Regions from separate parts of the Homo sapiens genome. Here region 1 is linked to region 2. The links are contacts of gene promoters, found by promoter capture Hi-C in blood cells and fetal thymus (Javierre and others, 2016). All regions are on one chromosome and are shown on one strand. Each heading gives the region's core, a stretch centred on a gene start or on the middle of the fragment in contact. The rest is flanking DNA. Distances are from core to core; before and after follow the strand shown.

Region 1 (4,286 bases), core at 177-2,676, 230 kb after region 2:
TAAAAACCAGCTGTGGTTAAAGCAGTTTGGTCAATGCAGTTCCCAGTGGGGGGCAAAGGTGCCATCCTTGACAGATGTGGTTGGGGGAGCTCTCAGGGAAACACATGGAGGTCTTTTCAAGGGGAAGGGAGGGAGCCTCCTCAGCTCCCCTGCCAGGACAGCAGGAAACCTACCCACCTCCCAGATACACTCCTGACCCAGTGATCTGACTAGTCAGATCAGATAGGCACCTCTTTTCATTTGCAGGAATGCTGATATTCCCTGTAGAGAGGGACTGGGGCTCTGCCACTCATGCAAGCCTGAACCTGGAGAGTGCTCCTCCTATAGAATGCAGTCACTCTGAACTATTCCAGAGAGAATGAATGTCTACATGTGTAGCCATGCCAAGCTGTCATGGGAGAAGCTGCAGCTGTGTCTGCAGTAGTGGACAAGGGGAAGAAAAAGTCCCCTTCTCTAAGACCCTTCATTGATCCCCAGAAGTGCCTGACTGTTGAAGTAGATCTGCAGACATTTCCGCCACTGAACCCAGCACTGCACCTATGCCTCTGCTGAAAGAAACTTCTTGCCAGGCACAGCGGCTCAAGCCTGTAATCCCAACACTTTGGGAGGCTGAGGCGAGTGGATCACGAGTTGAAAACTAGCCGGCCAAGATGGCAAATCCTCATCTCTACTAAAAATACAAGAAGTTAGCTGGGCACGGTGGCAGGCGCCTGTAACCCCAGCTACTCAGCAAGCTGAGGCAGGAGAATTGCCTGAACCCAGGTGCAGTGAGCCGAGATTGCGCCACTGCACTCCAGCCTGGGGGACAGAGCGAAAGTCTGTCTCAAAAAAAAAAAAAAAGAAAAAGAAAAGCAACTTCTCATATGCGGAAAGTGGGACTCAAGGTCTACCATCTGGAATCTTTTGTCCCATGGTGTGCTCCATTGATACGGTGCACTCCCCTTCCCCCTAGAAGTAGGAGTCTCAGAGAGCCAGACTACTATGAAGGCTGCGGCTCCTCTTGGTCTAGCCACCCAGTGGGGCTGCCACAATTTATGCTGGTGCTGGAGAATATCTGCAAGGGGCCAATCAAGTAACGGATCCTCAAAACCCCCAGCAGTGGTACCAGCCCCAGCTCTGATGGGGGAAGAAGGGGAGTGATGTAGATTCTGTGAGATTGCTCAGTTATAAGTAGCCTTAGTGTGTTGGCTTTCTCAAATGCCAGCTGTGGTACTAACAAACTGGTCATGTGGACAGACTCAGAACTTCCTGATTAACCAGATGGATGCAGGCAATAGTGATAGCTGAGGTCATGCACAAGTTTTCTCCTTCCTGCTGGCTGTTATTGTGCTTGCAAGCAGATACTATAATGGACTCTGTCAATTGGCCCACAGCCAGGAGGTGGCGCTTGCAAAATAACACCAGCTGTGGTGGTAGCAGTGGAATTTGTGTCTGTCTTATGTTACCCAGAGGAGGTACTCTCGCGTCTCAGGCAGTGGCGGGCCGGGCGGGGGGGCCATAGGGCTCCCAAAAATTTCTGCCCTACGTATTAATATATCAGGGCAGGTGGAGGGGCAAAGCCAAGTGAGAGCTCAATCAGGCAAGTCCGCACTCTGGCTCTCCACCTCTGGACAAAAGCAGTAGCCCCACTGGGGATCAGAGAGTGGTTCTCTGGTTGCAGGAATAATGTCCAGGGAGGAGCACAGCTGCCTCTGCTTCACAGAAGAGTCTGTATGGGGAATGGGGAGTAGCAGGTGGCAATAAGCCACACCCAGCTCCTACACTCTTGGCAAGACAGGTCTTGCACCCACAGTGTTCCACTAGCAGCAGCTAGCTAGGTTCCAGGCAGTCTGTGCTCAGAATTCAAATGTGCCCCAGGCCATACGCCTTCCCTGAGGAGCCAGTATCTGCAGCTTTCAGGCCACACCTCTCCAGGTTTGCCCATTAAGCAGGGACACAAAAGTCCAATGCTGAGCCAGTATCTGCAGCTTTCAGGCCACACCTCTCCAGGTTTGCCCATTAAGCAGGAACACCAAGCTCCTGTGCTGGTTGCTGCAGCTCACTTCCCACTTGCCTCTTGGTCTGACCACGGGGGAGTTATCCCTACTTGAGATTATATTGTGAATCTCAGTTGGGAGTTTCTCTCAACCTGTGACCACCACCTGTGTTAGCTGGCAGACGTCCATGAGGTCCCCTGTGAGGTAGGATCAGGAATGGCTTCCCTTTGTCCTGCTGGAGACTGGGAATGCCAGAGACTGGGAATGCCTGCCCTGATGCCACTTCTCATATACTCCCACCACTTACTAAGTCAGCTCCAGTACTCAGAAGGATTAAGACCCAGCCACCCAGTTGGCCTGCCACAAGGAAGGATTAAGACCTTCCCTGTGGCCTGGATTACCAGGTTCCCCGGTGGGACTGTATATCCTGGAGGCACTTTACCCTCTCTCACACTCTGGGGACTTACAGTTGTCCACCTGGCTCGTGGTGTAGGCTGCAGCCTGATGCTTCTTTCAAAGGGTGGTTTCTTTCAGTTTTCCTGTTAAGTTCCTGTGTCACTTCTTGGAAAAAACTTCACAGTGTGAATCTTTACACACTATGTTGTCTTCCAAGTGGGAGAAGCATGCTAACAATCCCTCCAATCCACCATCTCAGGAAAAAAATAAATAAACTGTCTTTTCTATAATCCCCATTTCAATGGGGGTGAGATGTTATCTCACTGTGGTTTTGATTCCCATTTCCCAGATGGTTAGTAATGTTGAGCAACTCTTCATATACCTATTGGTATGTCTTCTTTTGAGGAATGTCTATTCAGATCATTTGCCCATTTTTACTCGAATTATTTTTGGGTTTCCTTTGCTATTAGTTGTCTGAGTTCCTCATATGGTCTGATTACCAATCCTTTGTCAGACTGAAAACGTGCAAATTTTTCTTCTCATTCTGTAGGTTGTCTCTTCACTTTGTTGATTGATTTCTTTGCTCTGAAGAAGCTTTTTTGTTGGATTTAATCCCATTTCACCATTTTACCTTTGTTGCCTATGCTGTTGAGTTCTTATCAAAAAACTTCTTGCCCGTATCAGTTTCCTTAAGCATTTCCCCAATGTTTTCTTCGAGTAATTCATAGTTTCAGGTCTTGCATTTAAGTCTTTTATCCATTTTGGTTTGATTTTTGAATATGGTAAGAGATAAGCATCTGGTTTCATTTTCTGCATGTACACATTCAGTTCTTTCACCATCATTTATTGAAGAGATTGTCCTTTCCCCATTGAATATTCTTGGCAACTTTGTTGAAATTCAGCTGGGTGTAAATTCATGGATTTATTTCTGGGTTCTATGTTCTGTTCCATTGGTCTTTTTCCATTGGTCTCTCTTTATGCCAGTATCATACTGTTCTGATTACTATAGCTTTGTAGTATAATTTGAAGTCAGATAGTGTGATTCTTCCAGATTTCTTCTTTTCACTCAGGATTGCTTCAACTCTGTGTAGTGTTCTATGATATCATATAAATTTTAGAATCTGTTTTTTTCTATTTCTCTAGAGAATGTCACTGGTATTTTGGCAGAGATTGCATTAAATCTGTAGAATGTTCTTGGTAGCTGAGTCATTTTCACAATATTAGTTCCTCCAACTAATGTTGGAATAATGTTCCTTCCAACATGGAATGTCTTTCTATTTTTTTTTGTGACCTCTTCAGTTTCTTTTGTCAGTATTTTATAGTTTTCCTTGCAGAGCTCTTTCATCTGCTTAGTTATTTTTATTTTTAAGTCATGTATATACACTATACTATTTCTTAGTAATCTGTATTACTTAGAAATATTTTTTTTTGAGATGGAATTTCACTTTTCTAGCCCAGGCTGAAGTACAATGGTGCGATCTCGGCTCACTGAAATCTTCGCCTCCCGGGTTCAAGCGATTCTCCTGCCTCAGCCTCCTAAGCAGTTTAGATTACAGGCACACACCACCACGCCCAGCTAATTTTTGTATTTTTAGTAGAGACAGGGTTTCACCATGTTGGTCAGGCTGGTCTTGAACTCCTGACCTCAGGTCATCCAACTGGCTCAGCCTCCCAAAGTGCTGGGATTACAGGCATGAGACACAGCGCCCAGCCACTTAGAAATAAATTTAACTGAGTAAGTTAAATTTATTTCTAAGTTATATATATATAATATATATACACATATGTATTATACTATTTCTTAGTAATATATATTGCATAGAAATTAATTTAAATAAGTAGGCAAAAGATCTCTGCAAGGAAAACTATAAAACACTGATGAAAGACACTGAAAAGATCACCAAAAAAAGGAAA
Region 2 (3,855 bases), core at 534-3,033:
ACGCTTTATGTAGAGCACTTGACACACAGAAAGAACACTTTATGTAGAGCATCTGGCATACAGTAGGTGTGCTTTATGTAGAGTACCGGACACATGGAGTCACAGTTTATGAAGAGTACCCAGCACCCAGAGTAGGCACGCTTTATGTAGAGCACTTGACACACAGTAGGTGCACTTGACATAGATCACCAGGCACGTAGTAAACATGCTCTACATAGAACATCTGACACACAGTAGGTGTGTTTTATATAGAGCAGCAGGTGCAGAGTAGGTACACTTTACATAAGTTACTCCGCACAAATTTCACTTTATATAGAGGACCGAGAACAAAGAAGCAAGATTTTCTGTAGAGCGCCCAGCACACAGTGGACACACTTTTCATAGAGCACTTGGCACACAGTACACAACATGTATACAGAGTACCTGGCACATGGTAGGTGTGCTTTATTTAGAGTCCAGTACACAGTAAAAGAACTTTGCATATTGTCTTTTGCAAAGAGCAGAGACTGACACACAGCAGCTAAAGTGCTAGCTGCCAGCCCCTTCCCTTCACTCCCTCCTCAGAATCTTTCATCTGTCCCCATCTAAGGCCCATTTTCCTGTGATCCCTCCTCTGTCCCCCTCTAAGGCCTTATCTGACATCCCATTTCCCAGATGGGAAGCCTGAGTCCAGGAGGGGCTCACTACCCACAGTTAGGGCAAGGGGAGGGCAGAATAAGGACTCCACTCAGGGTCCCCCATCTCTGCCCTCCTGTCCCTGGCCCCATCCACTCATGGCCCCTCTCAGCCTTACCTCCCATCTCCCCTCTCTGTCCTCCTATGCTGAACCTAGCCTCCAGGTATTCTCCTCCAGCGGGGCTCTTTATCTCTAAAATCTGACCGGGTAATCCCCAGCACAGTTAGATAGTTTGTTCCTACTCCTGTCAGTCATGTCTCGACCCAGGCCCTGGGTTGCCTGGAGGCAGGACTTGAACTCCTGCCAGACTGTGAAGCCAGAGGCCAGGAGCTTCTGTCTCTGAATCTCCTAAGTCTGCACTGAGAAATGGTGCATGATGAACTCCTGGACCACATGTGGAGAGGAGCTCAGAACATGATCTGGCACAATGGTTGGCCTGGCCCCACTCTCTTGCCACCTGAACTCTCAAGTTCATGACTTTATCTGCCACACTCTTGCCTTGGAAGGGCAAGGTGGCTGTAAACTTTGGGGCTCAGAGTCACCTTTGACTCTTCCTCAAGATCCCCTCCCACTCAGGTGTGAGATGTTGAGACCTGCGGATCCTGTGCCCATGCTGTGTCACCCTGAGCTGGCTCCTCTGCACCCAGCTGGCCCTACGCCAGGTTTTGGTTGGTTGCCCAGGCTTGGAAGACACACCCAGTCCATGGGGATTGGCTCGACCAGCCCAGCCCAGCCTCGCCTCCCACAGCCTTCCGGAAATCAGGGGCCAGAGGCAAAGACCTCCTAGCAGAGGGGGAGAGGAGGGTATGTGGGACAAGCTGCTTCTGATAGGAGCCAGGCTGGCAGTGGCAGGGCTGGAGGGTCCTGGCCTGGGATGGGGAGGGGACTGCCCAAGGTTGGGGTGGGTCAAGGCTGCTGGCCTGGGAGACTGGTGATTTCCTGGTAACTGGACCCCTGGCAACCTCCCAGTGATTCAGGCTGGGCCTTTTTGGATTCTAATCAGCCTCTCTCTCTCTTTCCCTTTCTGTGTAACTGGAGGCCACTTGGCTGCTGGTTTTCATTGGGCATTTCTGGACTTTAGATCTCAGCTCTTGTTTACCCATCTCAGAGCCTTCCCTGATCTGCCTCCAGCACTGCCCATCCTTGCCCCTTTCCACTGTCCTTGGAGCTTCCTGGGCCCTTCCCTGGGCCTCAGGATCCCACCCTCCATCCCGTCTGCCCTGCAGGATGCCGCAGCTGAGCCTGTCCTGGCTGGGCCTCGGGCCCGTGGCAGCATCCCCGTGGCTGCTTCTGCTGCTGGTTGGAGGCTCCTGGCTCCTGGCCCGCGTCCTGGCCTGGACCTACACCTTCTATGACAACTGCCGCCGCCTCCAGTGTTTTCCTCAACCCCCGAAACAGAACTGGTTTTGGGGACACCAGGGCCTGGTGAGTTTGTCAGCAGGACGGGTCTGGGGTCTCAGGATGCATGGAGTTCCTGAGGGGCAGGAATGGGGCTCAGGGAGCTGGGTTTTGAGGGTGGCTGGGGTGTGGGAACACAGAGAAGAGAGGGAGGCAGCTCACTCATTCCTCTGCCCACTCACTCATTCCTCTCCCCGCTCACTCATTCCTCTGCCCACTCACTCATTCCTCTGCCCACTCACTCATTCCTCTCCCCGCTCACTCATTCCTCTCCCCGCTCACTCATTCCTCTCCCCGCTCACTCATTCCTCTCCCCGCTCACTCATTCCTCTGCCCACTCACTCATTCCTCTTCTCGCTCACTCATTCCTCTGCTCACTCACTCATTCCTCTCCTCACTCACTCATTCTTCTCCTCACTCACTCATTCTTCTCCTCACTCACTCATTCCTCTGCTCACTCACTCATTCCTCTCCTCACTCACTCATTCTTCTCCTCACTCACTCATTCCTCTCCTCACTCACTCATTCTTCTCCTCACTCACTCATTCTTCTCCTCACTCACTCATTCCTCTCCTCACTCACTCATTCTTCTCCTCACTCACTCATTCCTCTCCTCACTCACTCATTCTTCTCCTCACTCACTCATTCTTCTCCTCACTCACTCATTCCTCTCCTCACTCACTCATTCTTCTCCTCACTCACTCATTCCTCTCCTCACTCACTCATTCTTCTCCTCACTCACTCATTCCTCTCCTCACTCACTCATTCTTCTCCTCACTCACTCATTCCTCTCCTCACTCACTCATTCTTCTCCTCACTCACTCATTCCTCTCCTCACTCACTCATTCCTCTCCTCACTCACTCATTCCTCTCCTCACTCACTCATTCTTCTCCTCACTCACTCATTCTTCTCCTCACTCACTCATTCCTCTCCTCACTCACTCATTCCTCTCCTCACTCACTCATTCCTCTCCTCGCTCACTCATTCCTCTCCCCGCTCACTCATTCCTCTCCTCACTCACTCATTCCTCTCCTCACTCACTCATTCCTCTCCTCACTCACTCATTCCTCTCCCCACTCACTCATTCCTCTCCCCGCTCACTCATTCCTCTCCTCGCTCACTCATTCCTCTCCTCACTCACTCATTCTTCTCCTCACTCACTCATTCCTCTCCTCACTCACTCATTCCTCTCCTCACTCACTCATTCCTCTCCTCACTCACTCATTCCTCTCCTCACTCACTCATTCCTCTCCTCACTCACTCATTCCTCTCCTCACTCACTCATTCTTCTCCTCACTCACTCATTCCTCTCCTCACTCACTCATTCCTCTCCTCACTCACTCATTCCTCTCCTCACTCACTCATTCCTCTCCTCACTCACTCATTCCTCTCCTCACTCACTCATTCCTCTCCTCACTCACTCATTCCTCTCCTCACTCACTCATTCCTCTCCTCACTCACTCATTCCTCTCCTCACTCACTCATTCCTCTCCTCACTCACTCATTCCTCTCCTCACTCACTCATTCCTCTCCTCACTCACTCATTCCTCTCCTCACTCACTCATTCCTCTCCTCACTCACTCATTCCTCTCCTCACTCACTCATTCCTCTCCTCACTCACTCATTCCTCTCCTCACTCACTCATTCCTCTCCTCACTCACTCATTCCTCTCCTCACTCACTCATTCTTCTCCTCACTCACTCATTCTTCTCCTCACTCACTCATTCCTCTCCTCACTCACTCATTCCTCTCCTCACTCACTCATTCCTCTCCCCGCTCA

Evidence for each region. Contacts are between HindIII fragments. The CHiCAGO score rates a contact against its expected background, and 5 or more counts as called.
Region 1: a contact is called between a fragment that was not itself captured here and the fragment with the promoter of CYP4F11 in region 2, in 1 of 17 cell types (M0 macrophages). The highest score is 5.3, in M0 macrophages.

The regions. Positions count from the first base shown.
Region 1 is chr19:15,699,809-15,704,094 of GRCh38, reverse strand. No RefSeq gene overlaps it. Among named protein-coding and RNA genes, the nearest start is that of OR10H2, 26 kb to the left of the region's middle. The HindIII fragment of the contact is 3,084 bases long and covers 1-2,968 here.
Region 2 is chr19:15,932,457-15,936,311 of GRCh38, reverse strand. CYP4F11 (cytochrome P450 family 4 subfamily F member 11) reads left to right here and starts at 1,783. Exons shown (of 12, transcript NM_021187.4): 1 at 1,783-2,101. The coding sequence starts at 1,904. The HindIII fragment of the contact is 9,699 bases long and covers 1-3,855 here.